3 separate regions of the Homo sapiens genome follow, and regions 1 and 3 are each linked to region 2. Evidence: promoter capture Hi-C in 16 types of primary human blood cells and fetal thymus (Javierre and others, 2016). All regions are on one chromosome and are shown on one strand. The core of a region is centred on a gene start or on the middle of the fragment in contact, and the rest is flanking DNA. Distances in the headings are between cores, read along the strand shown.

Region 1 (4,453 bases), core at 530-3,029, 89 kb after region 2:
AGTGACAGAAGAGGCAAACAATGTGATTTTTGTGATCGAGCATTTAGAAAGGTTAAACTGACAATCTTGACGCTTATGGAAGTTAAATGGTCAGGTGCTGGGACACTTCGTAAGAGAACTGGCCAGGTTGGGGAGAAATTGAGAACACTTTGGAAAACGGAGACGTAGGTCCCAGACCTGCCAGTTATGGGCTAAGGAGGGTTTGTGAATCACTTAGTATTCTAAAGTTGTGGCCTCTCCCTTTGTAAAATAATTTTATCTGTTTAATAGGGTGCTTGGAAAGTTAAATGCCAAAATAAATGCCATGGTACTTTATAAACTGGAAAGCCCTGTTACTATTAAGAGGGGCCAGATTTCAAAGAAAGCAGAGGCCTTGTGGGCTGCTATTGCCCCAGAAGAGGATTTGGATGTAGAGAGACTGAAGATTGGTTGAACCTTGGAGAGGCCACGGAGAGGAGGAAGAACGCTCACTAGAAAGACGGCATGACTGAGGAAGTCGGTGGGAACAAGCCTGCTTCTCCCATGGGAATGTTTCTAATCCTTTACTGTGGCCACCCTTCTCCAAACTCTGCGGAGGGAGATTGCAGGCTGACCCTACCATGGTGCAGCATTTGGACCATGACTGTCTGGGGGCACGAAGTGCTTTGTGATTTGGTTTAAGGGTGAAATCAGTGGTTCCAAACATTGAGCGCACATTAAATCACCTTGGAACATTGCATTGCAAGAATGCCCAGTTTCCATCCCTGAGCTGCACTAATCAGACTTTCTGGGATATGACGGTTTGGGTGATGTCGTTTTCATAGATTTAAAAGTGATTCTGAAGAAAAGCAGGGTTGAGAACTGCTGTTGAGTTCTTGATGTATGGATTGAGAAATTCGTTCTGAATCGAAACACCCTGTCATCCACTAGTTAAGAAAAATTAACTCTGTTTGCTACTGGTCCCCAAATGGGGCCAGTTGGGCTCTTATGGGAGGGCCCAGCAAATCTGAAACCTTGTTAGTGTACTCCAGACTTCTGCCTCATGCCTGTGTCCTTGGAAACCTAGGCTCCTCCTCTTGCCCTGTGATCCCAGGGGTCTGGCAGGTGAAGGTTTCAGCCATGTTTCACAGTGGGACACCTGCCATGGCTCACAAAGTTGTTGACTGTACGAATTCTGTGTAGTGTCCACTCATGTCCTCCCTGCCCACACCAGCCCTGCCCAGCTGTCTACATGAATCCTGGCAGGACTGAGGGAGGCAACTGAATCCAACCATCCTCACACAGGACAAAGCTATTGTTATGACTAACAATAAGTCACTCTCTATCCGTCTTAATTGCATCAGATCTACTGTTATTTAAACATTGCGTTTATAGTCCTTCTCCTCAAGTAGAAAGTAAGATTCATGAGAGCAAAGATCTTTATTGTGTCACTCACTGCTATGTTGCCATTGCCTAGAAAGGTGCCAGGCATATAGTAGACACTTAATTTACACATGATGCATGAATGGATGATGCAATAGCACCCATTTATGGAGTATGTATTATGTGCCAGGCTCTATATCACTTCACATGTATCATCATGTTTAATTCTCACAACAAGCTTAAGAGGGAGGTGCTACTATCTGTTCTCATTTTAGAGAAGCGGAAATTGAAATTCAGACAAGTTTACACACCTGCCCAAGGTTACACAGGTAGGAAGAAGCAAAGCTAGGACTTGAACCCATGACTTTTCAACTGCAAAGACCACGATCCTAACTATTATATTATACTCATTCCTCTTGCTGGGTATGGTGCAGGGACATGTATTTAGCAAGGACTGGCTGCTTGTCTGTCAGCCAGTCACAATCTGGTTGACTCTGGCACTGAGTAGTCATGTTAGTGGCACAATCTCCAGGGAGAGTTATTGCAATCTAAGGGCTGAAAAGGAAATAGATTCCTATACCTTACTCCCCAAATCCAAGGTTCTTCAGGATATCTACTGCAATGCTAGACAAGCTTATTAACTTTTTTTTTTTTTTTTTTTGAGACAGAGTTTCACTCTTGTTGCCCAGGTTGGAGTGCAATGGCGCAATCTCGGCTCACTGCAACCTCCGCCTCCCAGGTTCAAGCGATTCTCCTGTCTCAGCCTTCCAAGTAGCTGGGATTACAGGCATGCACCACCGCGCCTGGCTAATTTTTGTATTTTTAGTAGAGATGGGGTTTCTCCATGTTGGTCTGGCTGGTCTCGAACTCCCAACCTCAGGTGATCCACCCGCCTCGGCCTCCCAAAGTGCTGGGATTACAGGCGTGAGCCACCGTGCCCAGCCAACTTTTTTTTTTTTTCGGAAGTTTACCCTAGCAGCATATTGAAAGGGCCAAGGTGAGATCAAAGTATGTCTCTCTTGGGTAGTGAGACCCTGAATGACTTTTATTTTACCCTTTATATTTTTCTGCAATGCATATGTATATTCATTATAACAAAGATCCCCAAGTGCATTAGCCTACGTGAGTTCAAAGATTATTTTTGCCTCAGGTAAACAGTCCAGGGCAGAAAGGTGAGCTCTGCTTCATAAGGTCATCAAGGTTTCCAACTGGCCCAGCATGTCTGCCTTCAACATGTGGCTGTTCTTTGGGTTAAGGCTCCTGCTCCAGTTGTTCTCAACTTCGTGGTTGAAAGTAGCTCGCCAGCACCACCTCCAGGAGAGGGGCTGGAGGATTAGGAGAATCTCAACAGCTTCATCTTTAAGTAATTACTTATATCCCACTGCCCAAAACCTAGTTACATGGTTACAACTAGCTGCAGGGTTGAGGTTCATGTTTTTGTGTGTATAAATGCCAACACAATTTGTTGAAAACACTATCATTTCTTCATTGAATTTCCTTTGCACATTTGACAAACAAGATTGATTTGTGTCTATTTCTGTACTTTCTATTCTGTTCTGTTGATCTATGTGTCTCTCCCTCTGCCAATACCACACTGTCTTGATTCTTATAAGTCTTAAAATTAGATAGTGGGATTCTTCCAAAGCCAATTTTCTTTTGGCTATGCTAGTTTCATTGCCTTTTATATGAATTTCAAAATCAGCTTGTCAAATATCTGCAAAAAATTCTGCTAGAGTTTTGATTGACATTACATCAAAAGCATAGATTGATTTGGGTAAAATTGTCCTTTTTCTTGTTGAGTCTGCCAATCCATGAACATAGTATGTTTCTCCATATATTGAGGTCTTCTTTGAGTTATTTCATCAGCATTTTAGTGTTTTCAGCACATAGATTCTATGTATGTTTTGTTAAAATTATTTATACGTATCTCTTTTTGGGGGGGAGCTCTTATCATTTTTTGTTTGTTTCTGATTGTTTATTACTATCTTTATAAATATACATGATTTTTTGTATTGACCTTATATTCTAGAATGTGTTTAAACTCAGTATTATGTTTTCCCCAAAAATTTACATATTGAAGCCAGTTAACTGTATTTGGAGATAGGGGTTTTAAGGATGTAATTAAGGTTAAATGAGGTCATAATGGTGGGTCTCCAATCCAATAGGACTAGTGTCCTTATAAGAAGAGGAGAAGATACCAGGAATGCAAGTGTAGAGAAAACATCATGTAAGCAAGAAGGCAGTGATCTGCAAGCAAAGGAGAGAGGACTCACCAGAAATCAACTTGCTAGCACCTTGCTCTTGGACTTCTAGCTTATAGAAGTGTGAGAAAATAAATTTCTTCGGTTTAAGCCCCTCAGTCTGCAGTATTGTGTTATGTAGCGCTAGTGGACTAATACACTCACTGATTCCTTAAAGGAGCTTTTGGTAGACTTCTTGGGTTTTCTATATAGACAATTGTGTAAACTGCAAATAGGGAAAGTTTTATGTCTTCCTTCCAATCTGTATGTATTTTATTTATTTTTCATGCGTTATTGCAGAGTCTAGAAGTTCTAGTGTTATGACGTATACTGTGGTGATAGTGGACATCCTTCCCTGGCTTTGTTCCTGACCTTAGGGGCAAAGTATTCAGTTTTTCCCCATTAAGTATGATATTAGATGCAGGTTTTTGTTGATGCTCTTTATCAGGTTGAAGTGATTCCCTCTATTCCTAACTTGCAGATAATTTTTATCATGAGGTAGTGTTGTAGTTTGTCAAATATTTTTTCTGTGTCAATTTACATTATCATATGATATTTCTCCTTAGCTTATTGACACAGTGGATAACTTTGAATGATTTTTTGAATGATGAAGCAATCTTGCGTAACTAGAATAAATCTTACTTGGTTGTGGTGTATAAGTTCTTTTATATATTGCTGGATTCCATTTGTTAATATTTTGTTGAATATTTTGACATTTAGATTCATGAGAAACAGCCTGGGCAACATGACAAAACCTCATCTCTACCAAAAAGACAAAAATTAGCCAGGGGTGGTGCATGCCTACAGTCCCAGCTACTTGGGAGGCTAAGGTGGGAGGATCACCTGAGCCTGGGAGGTGGAGGCTGCAGTGA
Region 2 (5,000 bases), core at 1,181-3,680:
AAATTAACTTTCAGTTTTTAATCTAATAAGTTGCAGTGTTGAGTGAGCTATAAAGATTACCAAGAGTTAAGAAAGATTGTTCAAAAAAATAGGGTGAATTCAACTTAAACATGGCACACATCAGGTTATATGTGTTATCTTTAACGATTTTCATCATTTGCATTATTAAACAGCCAGAAATTTTTTTAAAGGGCCCAAACTGTTTTAAGAGAACCAAATGAGCTTAAAAACAATTGTTGTTTTCTACATAAAGATCAATTCTTTAGTCATCATCTGAACACTCTCTCATCAGACCACTAATTAGTAAAGCCTCACTTGGTTATTTTTGGCGTGGTTAACTCTTTGGGGGTAACGTTTTATTAATAACATATTTCCTCTAGAACGTATTTCCTTCTTTCACCTCCACAGGAGCCCCTCTGGGAAGCAGTGAGAATAAAACCGATTCTACATTTACGCACAGTGGGACAGATCAGCAAATAAATAGAGGCATCGATTTCCAAGAAGAAAACGGCTAAAAGCAGCGCATTTACAATTCTTCTAAGCCATACTCCACATCTCTCTGTGAGATGGAAGATAATTACTGAACGTCTTTACTTTGCACACTTTATTTTTAACTAAATATTTAAGTAGACTGCTGAGAGATACCAATACTTCTACTGGTCCTGGTTTAGCGCTGTAATGAAACACTGAATTTTTGCTTTTATAAAATAGTGGCGCAGGTCAGGATAACTCTTTTAAACATTACACTATTTATTTGGGGGTTATTTTTGGCTAACTTTTTCCTTTAAGGACATCTTAGTGGCAGGAAGATGGAGCTAGTGTGTGCGCTTGAATGTGAACAGTGCCTCCCAAGGAGGGCAGCTCTGTGTTTAATGCAAGCCATAATTAGTTGGTCAATTCACTGATGGGGACCAAGCTACAGTGAGAGAGAGATGCTGGCAGAGATGTCTTGCTGGGAACTACTTTAGAACTAATTACCTGGGAAGTTCAAACAGGAAAAACCTTTCTATTAAGGAAAATAAGGTTTGGGTTCTAAATGATCAAGACGGTTTAGCTCGTCTCTGCTGATTAAGTTAATTTAATAAGTGATCAATGTTTTACCTGTAGGAAAACAGGCTAACCACTTTAATGAAGTTGGGGTGGATGCCAAAGCAACGCGTAAAGACGAAACTCCTCTCCGGGACCCTCCTGAACACCTGTTGAACTCCAGGGCTTCTAACTTTCCGTACTAAAGCCTCCCGGACACAAGCTCGGGAGTGTTTAGACTTTGTGGAAGTGCGTGCGTATATTCAAGGTTTCCATCTTGCTTAATCAACAAAACTAGTTACTAATTATTTATGAATCACAGGGCTGAAACAAACTTTCTTACCTTGAGCAATTAAGGAGTGGCAAGCAGAGGAGCGGGACTGGTTCTGAATTTAGCCGGGTGGTGCCTGTCCCTTCCCTGGTTACCGACCTGCCCAGCTCTTCAGAAAGGTCAAAGGTGCGTCCCTCCTCGGCTGGGAAAGGGGCACATCTCCCAACAAAACCATACGCATACATCCAACCTGGGGAGCTCCGGAGTTGGGGTGGGGGGGCGGCAGCGACGTGAGGAGCCAGGCTGCACGCTGTCTGCGCACACGGGGGTTGGGGGCACCGATTCCGCACCCAATCCGGCCCGGAACCAATTCCGACCCAGGGACTCCGAGAGACCGCGGGCCCAGGGCGCGCACGCCGCACTCTCCGGGGGTCCAGGACGCCCGACGTTTCGGAGGGTAGCGCGATGGGTCTCGAAGACAACCACGGGCAATCCCCAAAGCTGTTGCCCTGGGGCACGATCCTTCTCCACCCTGTCGGACACCCCGAGGACCCCCAAATTCCGAGGCTCGGATGCCCAGTCCTCTGTCTTCTGCGTCGAGACGCGCCCGGAGCCCACCGGCCCAGCGATTGCTACCTCCTGCAGGACGCGAAGCCCCCAGCGGCCTGACTGTGGAGGGGAACCCACCTCTCCGCGCCCCCGCGTCCGGGGTCCCCGGTGCCGCGCAGCCTCGCGCCTGAGCGCCCCTCCGCCCCCGCGCGTCCTCCACGCTGGCGAGCAGGTGACCGAGTCCTGCGACCCCGCGCGCACGTACTACCCACCCTGGGTCCCCCGCGCCCCTAGGCGCGGCCCCTTACCTCGGAGCGGGCCGGAGCGGCCCCGCGGGGCCGGGCGCGGACTGGGCCGGGGAGACGCGCCTCCCGCCGCCGCTGGGAGACGAGGCGGCGAGCGGGCGCGGCGAGCTCCTCCCGGGCGGCGGCGGGAGGCGCTGCTCTAGCTGCTGCCGCCGCCGCCGCCGCCGCCGCGGCTGCGGGTCTCCGGGCTCCGCGGCCGCCGCTCCTGGGCCGCAGCCGCGCGGGTCCCTCGGCTCCTGCGAGAGGCCGGCTGCTCGCGCGGCAAACTCTTCCGCACGCAGAGCCGGCGGGGAGAGCCGCCTCCGCCTCTGCCTCCTCCCCTGCCTCCTCCCTCCACCCTCCTCCCTCTCCACCTCCCCCTCCTACCCCCACCCTCCTCCTCCTCCCCTCGCCTGCCTCCGCCTGCGGGGTCTCTCCTGGCCCCGACCCAGCCTGGGACAAGCACCCCGCGCGCGCCGCAGGCAGACGGACCCCCGGCCCCCTAGACCCCCGGCTTCCCTGGGCGGCGCAGACACCCGCGAGTCCCCAGGCCGCCGCAGCCTCTGCTGGGCTGCCAGGGACGCGCGGCGGGGTCGGGCCTGGGGCGCAGGGTCGGGGTTGGGCGCCGGGGCTGGGGGAGGGGGGGGTTGTGCTTCCAGGTGAGCCGGCCCAGAGGAGAGGCAAGTGGACTAGAGGCTGCCAGCCGAGGTCCCATTAAAGTTGTCACTCGGGGGGAACAAGGAATCTGCCGCCCCCGCCTAGTGTAGACCCTCGCAGTGCGGGCCGCCACCCTGCTGTCCCGCGCAGGGGATGAAGGGGGACGAGCACGCGACTGTCACCCCCTCCACACTGTCCTCCAGGGGCAGGGTTGCGCGCAGGTCTCGACCCAGGGCACAAAGCGCGTCTCTGCGGGGACCACTGCGATTTCTCAATGAGCGGCGGGGGTGCGGCCCGGGGGCAGGTGGGAGGCGGGGGTCGGGGAAGATGCGGGCGAGCGGTGGTCGGCGGAGGACAGCAGCGACTGCTGGGGAGGAATAACCAGTGCCTGTCCTAAGGCGAACGTAGCTGGTCCGGAAAATGGGTCAAGGATGGAAAGGAACCGGCTAATTGCCCCCCTCCCCGGCAGGGGCACGTGGGGTGTGGGGCTGCGGCCAGGAGCGGGCACTTGGAGCTCCACTCTGCCTCTCCCTCCCCTCCTCCGCTGCCCTCCTCTCCTTTTGCACCAGTGCAGGAAATGTTCCACTGACCTACATATTTTTCCAAACATACGTGACCTTTTTTTTTTTTTCCTCTGTGGGAGGAGACAGGCGAGAATCCAAGAAAAAGAAGCTGGAGAGAGAGGCGCGCGCGAGAAACAGGGAGGATTTTACCAAGGTTCCCGCAAACGCCAAGCGGAGGGAGGCAGAGGTACAGGAATAATCCCCGGGTGCCGGGGCTGCTGTCTGATGCCCTTCGGGGCTCCAAGACAGAGCCGGTGAAAACCGGAGACCGTGTGCCCCGCCGAGGTCCGGAAACGTGGCCGGTTTCCCCTTCACCTGGGCGGCGGCGTTCACAGCGGGGAGGCGCCTGGGTGGAAGCCCGGGAGAGGGGAAAGGTCCCCCTGCCCGCTCCCACGAGGTCTCCGCTCCCCTGGCCTAGGTGCCTGGCCTGGCGCAGCGCTCCGAGCGTGGCAGCCTTTTCCGGACGTCTCTCCGTCCCTCTTACATTCCGGCAAGTGGCCCTGGAAGGAAAGCGCCCCCGCTGGCCCTTTTCTGTCATACTCGATTTTGTGGCCAGAAGGGGTCTCCTAGGGCCTTTGCCCCAAGCGCGCCAGGCCCCCGCGGTGGACTGGGGGTCGCCCCGGACGCTGTTCCTCTCGCTGTCTCGTCCTCTCCCTCGAGTTTGAGACGTGCCCTCTCCCTCGCAGATCCGACCAGCAGCGCCTTATTTGGGCATGCAACCCCACACCGTCAATTAGATCAAAACGCTCACACAGAGCTCCTTTTTACCCCCCCTGTAAAGTAGGTCATTCTCTTTATTTCCCACTTGTATTATTTGTGTCTAATTCTCCTCCTGAAAAATAATCAGCTGCAAGGAGCTTTGAGCATCCTAAGAGCAGCTGTTATTCTCAGGCTTGCTTCTGACTTGGAGGGCTTTTCAAGAAAGAGGAGGAGGCATTTGGCCTGTCATGATTTTGAAGTCCCTCCCTTTCCAAAAGAAGAAACTTTTGTTTGATGGATTTTATTTTGCTTTGTTTTTCTACCCCGTCCTTTTCCTCCAGGCAAGTAGGTTTCACCCCGCCTTTAGAGCGTGGCCATGACTAATATTACTAAAGGATGAAATTGTGTACTTCTAACCGGTTTTAAAGCATTATTTAAAGTCACCTCCCTTCCTTTTTTGCTTTGGAAGAGATTCCAACTCCCTTTTCCTACTCCCTTTTGGGAACTTGTTGAACAATCATTAAATTTTCTTTTAGGAAACCTGGAATGTCCTGTAGTAGTAACTCATCAAATAATTCTGCAGTACAAAAAGTGTTTTTGCTGTGGTCTCTTTTTCTCTGTTGTCCAGTAGATGCCCCTACTAAATGTGGTTTCTGCCTTTTTAGTCCTGGAGATGACGTGTATGTGGTTGTCGTATTTATTCCAAACTCCATCCCGTGTCCTAATGTTAATCTCACCCAGATGGGAAGGATACCTCTAAGATAGGCCACATATCCTATCTGACCATAAGGCAGAGTGGATTCTGCATCACAGAAGCCAGTTAGACTAGGCCCTTTCCCCCACATGCGGAAGAGAGCTACGGAGGAGAGTTGACCCCATGTTCATTCTATGCATTTGACGGTTGAGTTCCTTTTACTGACATCTGTTGAAGGCTTGCCATGAGTCAGGCTG
Region 3 (4,274 bases), core at 422-2,921, 130 kb before region 2:
AAATTAGTTCTCCCTTCTTAATTCATTCTAACCTCCTTTCAAAAGCAAAATTCTTATCTTTCTAGCTTGTAAAACCAGAAAAATTAAACTTACATTTTAAGTATTCTGGGGAGGGGGAATCCGTCACAAGCATATGGGAAGAAAGGATTTTATAAACTTCTGAATGTTCTTGTTCTGGGAGGAAATTTAACAAATTCTGATCCATGACATCCGACTGAAAAAGAAAATAAAGGACAAAGGTACACCCTCAACGAAGATGAAAAACAGAAGCAAAAACAAAAATTGAACATTCACAACAACGCAGAACTGGTTTCTGAAATGGAAAGTTCAATATCTGATTTTCTGTGGACACTCTCAGTTTATCACTCCATTGTTTTAAATAGTAACCTAAAGGGCTGTATTTGTTCAAATGCATATGTGCTGTTGTCTGTGGGCCAAGGAGGGAACTAAGAGTGAAGTCAGACAAATGTAGGAAGGACTGAGTCCTCCTGTTGCTTGAGAAGTGCTGTTTGCTGACACTCCTGCGTTTTGGCTGGGGTAGCATGGCCCCTGTGCACGCCCAGTGCGAGGCCAATCATTGATTTAAATGGCTCCAAAGAGCCCACAGGGTTCCTTTCCTGACCCTTAGGGCAGCAAAGGGCTGCCAGTCTACTTCGTAAAGGTCTTTAAGTTATGGAACTGCACGTTTTCTTCTGAGTGCCTTGGCACTGTGGTTACAAAATAAATACAAGGTAGAGTTCAGATTGAGTGCTGTCCAATAGAACTGTCTGTGATGATGGAAATGGTCTGTAATCTGTGCTGCCCGTAACAGGAGCCACTAGCCACATGGTTACTGAGCACTTGAAACGTGGCTAGTGTGAACAAGGAACTGAATTTTAATTTGTTTTTTTTTTTTTGAGACAGAGTGTTGCTCTTGTTGCCCAGGCTGGAGTGCAATGGTGTGATCTCGGCTCACTGCCAGCCTCCACCTTCCAGGTTCAAGCGATTCTCCTGCCTCAGCCTCCCAAGTAGCTGAAACTACAGGTGTTTGCCACCATGGCCGGCTAATTTTTTGTATTTTTAGTAGAGACGGGTTTCACCGTGTTGGCCAGGCTGGTCTTGAACTCCTGACCTCAGGTGATCCGCCCACCCCGGCCTCCCAAAGTGCTGGGATTACAGGCATGAGCCATCAAGCCTGGCCCATTTAATTTGAATTGAAATTTAAACAGCCACATGTAGCTAGTGGCTACCATATTGGATATGCAGGTAGGAGCTCACAGTGGACCGAGGAGACAGGCACCTCTCTCTTCCTCAGTTTCCCTCAATAAACCCATCCACTCTCACAGCTTCAAACACAATCTGTATACACTTTCAGGTTTGAATATCCAGCCAACTCTCTCATGTTCCAGCCTCAGCCTTCCAACTGCCACTCAGATGCTCCCTGGGGACCACAGATGAATACATGTCCTGAACATCGGCATTCTTTCCCACCCATATCATCTCCAACCCTTGTGTTTGCATCTCCATCAACAGTATCATCAGTTGGTCATCTGCCTGTCCCAGACCCTCTGGTGGCGCCTTTGTCTTCTCTCCTTCTCGTCCTTACCCTCAAACCAAACAGTGTCCATAGTACTGCCCATTTTTCTCCCTCAAATTCTCTGCTCCATTCACTTCTATTTCTCCAGCTTCCACCCTAGTCCAGACCCCCATCCTCTCTTGCCTGGGAATGATTTGGCCAAACTGGTCTTCCCACATCCACTTTAGTGCCTGTGCAATTTGTTCTCCATCAGCAGTCAGAGGAGCCTCATAACAGATCAAGTCACAACTGTCCCTTGGCTTCCGACTGCTCCAGGAACAAAGCCTCAACTGCTCAACACAATTTCACAGCTCTTCACAGCTCAGCCTCTGCCTCTCCCAGCTCCCAGCACTTCTCTAATCCTTCCGAGCCTTTTTTCCTCCAGTTTGCCTTCTGTTCTCCCCGAGCCTCACCTGGGCTGTTCCCTCAGGCAGGAACATGCTGCACCCTCCCCTTGTGTTTAACGAAGCCCTGTGCAACCTTCAGGTCCCTGCTTTGAAGTCACTTCCTCTGAGAAAGCCCCAGGTGACACCCTCCACCCCCACTGATGATTTAAGGGGCTCTGAGGGGACAATGACCCCCTTGATGGGACATCAGGTGACATGGCAAGGCGTGAGAGCTCAGAGCCCAGGCTTGAAAGCAGGTTCTACCCCTCCATGCTGCATTTTCCTCAGCTGCAAGGTGAGGAAACCATGAAGGTTCCATGAGCTCACCTGCCTCCACTGCTGATAAAACAGCACGTGGCAGACATTCAATAAATGCCAAGTGCGATTAGGCACTGAATGACCAGTTACAGAATGACTACAAGGGCACCTGCACCACAGTAACGTTTTCCTGTACAGCTATGTGCTGAGTTGAGCATTCCGCCTCCCTCTCTCCAACAGGAGCTTCAGGAGAGCAGGGCCCAGTGCCTTGTTCACCACCACATCCCTGATGTCCAGGATGGTGACTGAACTGACCAGCTGAAAGAATGGCGTGGCCAGCACTATGACAGGCATTAAAACAAGGTGCCCGGAGAACACTGTGGATGGTGTGCTGCCTCCACAATGAAAGGGTAGAGGAGACTCCTGGGGAACAATTTCCAGAGGGAGGAATCCTTGAGTGGGAGCCAGGGGACAAGACAGTGTCTGCCAGACAGGGTGGGAAGGTGCTCCAGCCAGGGGGCTCAGCATGCACAGAGGCATAAGGTGGGTACCCTGACAGCACTGCAGGAAGGTGGGAACAACAGGGAGGGCGAGAAGCCATGACAGAGGAGGTTGCACAGGGAAGCAGGGCCCAGATGAGAGAGGCCTCGGAGGAGTCAGGGCTCGACCCTGTGCCAGGAGGAGCCACGAAGAACCTGAAGGAAGGGGGTGGCAGAACTGCTCGTGCATTTTAAAGAGATCCTGCTTGTAGTCTGGAAGGAGAGAGCACTGGAAGTCAGGCTGGCAATGGCCAGGGTCCCAAGAGAGACAGGGGAAGGAGTGGAGAGGAGCAGACAGAGTCCCAGGCAACTCATCAATATCGTAGTCCAAACAATACTTGCTGAGGGCCGCCATGTGCCAGCCGCTGTTGGGCATGGGGAAGACACGTTGGGAAGCAGGCAGAGCCCCTCCCTGCCTGCAGTCAGTGTTCCGGTGGGTGTGAGGACAGTGGACACAGCTTGGTGGCTGATCGGAGGACAGGAGGAGGGAAAGGAAGGACTCAGCATGGCTTCCAGGCTCTGGCTCGGACGCACCGGTCTTTATCTTTATGGACGAAACTCTACCAGGATCCTCTCTCGTCTATGCTACCATTTCTCATTCTGGCTTTCTCCAAGTTTCTTCGGATGTTCCTGGTTTTATTTTAAGCCCATTCTCTCTAGTTTTTTTAGAAGATGACTCATGTTCACAGATGACAGTAGTCTTTCTTCATAAAGATATTTCAAATACTTGAAAATGAAAACTAAGTGACTCCATGGCCTCTTCTTGGAGGGCTCCATCTGAAGCCACTTCCCCTGACGGTGGGTGTGGCAGAGAGCAAGGCTGAGTGGCTGCCTGGCCGGGTCACCTGTGTGAGAGAACTTTACTGATACAGGTCCGAGGGCCAATATCAGGACACGGGTTCTGCACAGAATAAAGACGAACGCTGGATGCAAGTAGGGGCAGGTATGATATGTGGGAGGTTGCGAGGATGGTGAATTAACACACAGAAAGGGCCCCAGACTGTGCTTGGCTCTTGCATGTATTTGCTAGTACATTGCTATTATGCTACTTCCACATGCTGAAAACCAACACAAACAATGATAACTTGAAATTTTTAACCCTAGTGCTTACAGGTGAGAAAATTACATCGGCAGTTGAACGGTCCCTTGAATGAGCTGAGTTCTGTTTATTAAAATAATAGCAATTATGGAGACAAGGGAGGGAATGTGCCATCCACAGCCGTCTTTACAGCCGAGTCCCACGATCGGGAAGGTCACCTGCCTGTGGAGGTGGGCAGTCCTCTCTCCTAATTGCCTGACGGGCCTTGAACCAGCAGCACCAGTGCAGGGACACCCAGCTATGTTAAATGAGCCTGTACTAAAAGCACACTGAGGCTGAGCTGGAAGTAGGCTGGATGGACACTTCCTCCCAGAGTGTCCCTGAGGCGCTCTGGCAGTTTTGGCTTGAGATCTGTGCTGGCTGCAGTGAGAAGAGGCAATGGTGAGCAGCCCTGGAGAAACTTCACCTTGAGAAAAGAACGGCTTAAGAGAAGTCAC

The links. Contacts are between HindIII fragments. The CHiCAGO score rates a contact against its expected background, and 5 or more counts as called.
Region 1: a contact is called between a fragment that was not itself captured here and the fragment with the promoter of NPAS2 in region 2, in 3 of 17 cell types (endothelial precursors, M2 macrophages and M1 macrophages). The highest score is 8.8, in endothelial precursors.
Region 3: a fragment that was not itself captured here is called in contact with the fragment with the promoter of NPAS2 in region 2 in 1 of 17 cell types (endothelial precursors); the score reaches 7.0 in endothelial precursors.

Annotation. Positions count from the first base shown.
Region 1 is chr2:100,728,661-100,733,113 of GRCh38, reverse strand. LOC105375310 (a long non-coding RNA gene) reads left to right here. Exons shown (of 3, transcript XR_001739612.2): 1 at 1-1,670. Among named protein-coding and RNA genes, the nearest start is that of LINC01868, 51 kb to the right of the region's middle. RefSeq lists a silencer at 2,473-2,767. The HindIII fragment of the contact is 395 bases long and covers 1,582-1,976 here.
Region 2 is chr2:100,817,569-100,822,568 of GRCh38, reverse strand. NPAS2 (neuronal PAS domain protein 2) reads right to left here and starts at 2,430. Exons shown (of 21, transcript NM_002518.4): 1 at 2,155-2,430. The HindIII fragment of the contact is 7,542 bases long and covers 1-5,000 here.
Region 3 is chr2:100,944,175-100,948,448 of GRCh38, reverse strand. It overlaps NPAS2 (neuronal PAS domain protein 2), which reads right to left. Exons shown (of 21, transcript NM_002518.4): 6 at 94-214. Among named protein-coding and RNA genes, the nearest start is that of NPAS2-AS1, 31 kb to the left of the region's middle. The HindIII fragment of the contact is 5,412 bases long and covers 1-4,274 here.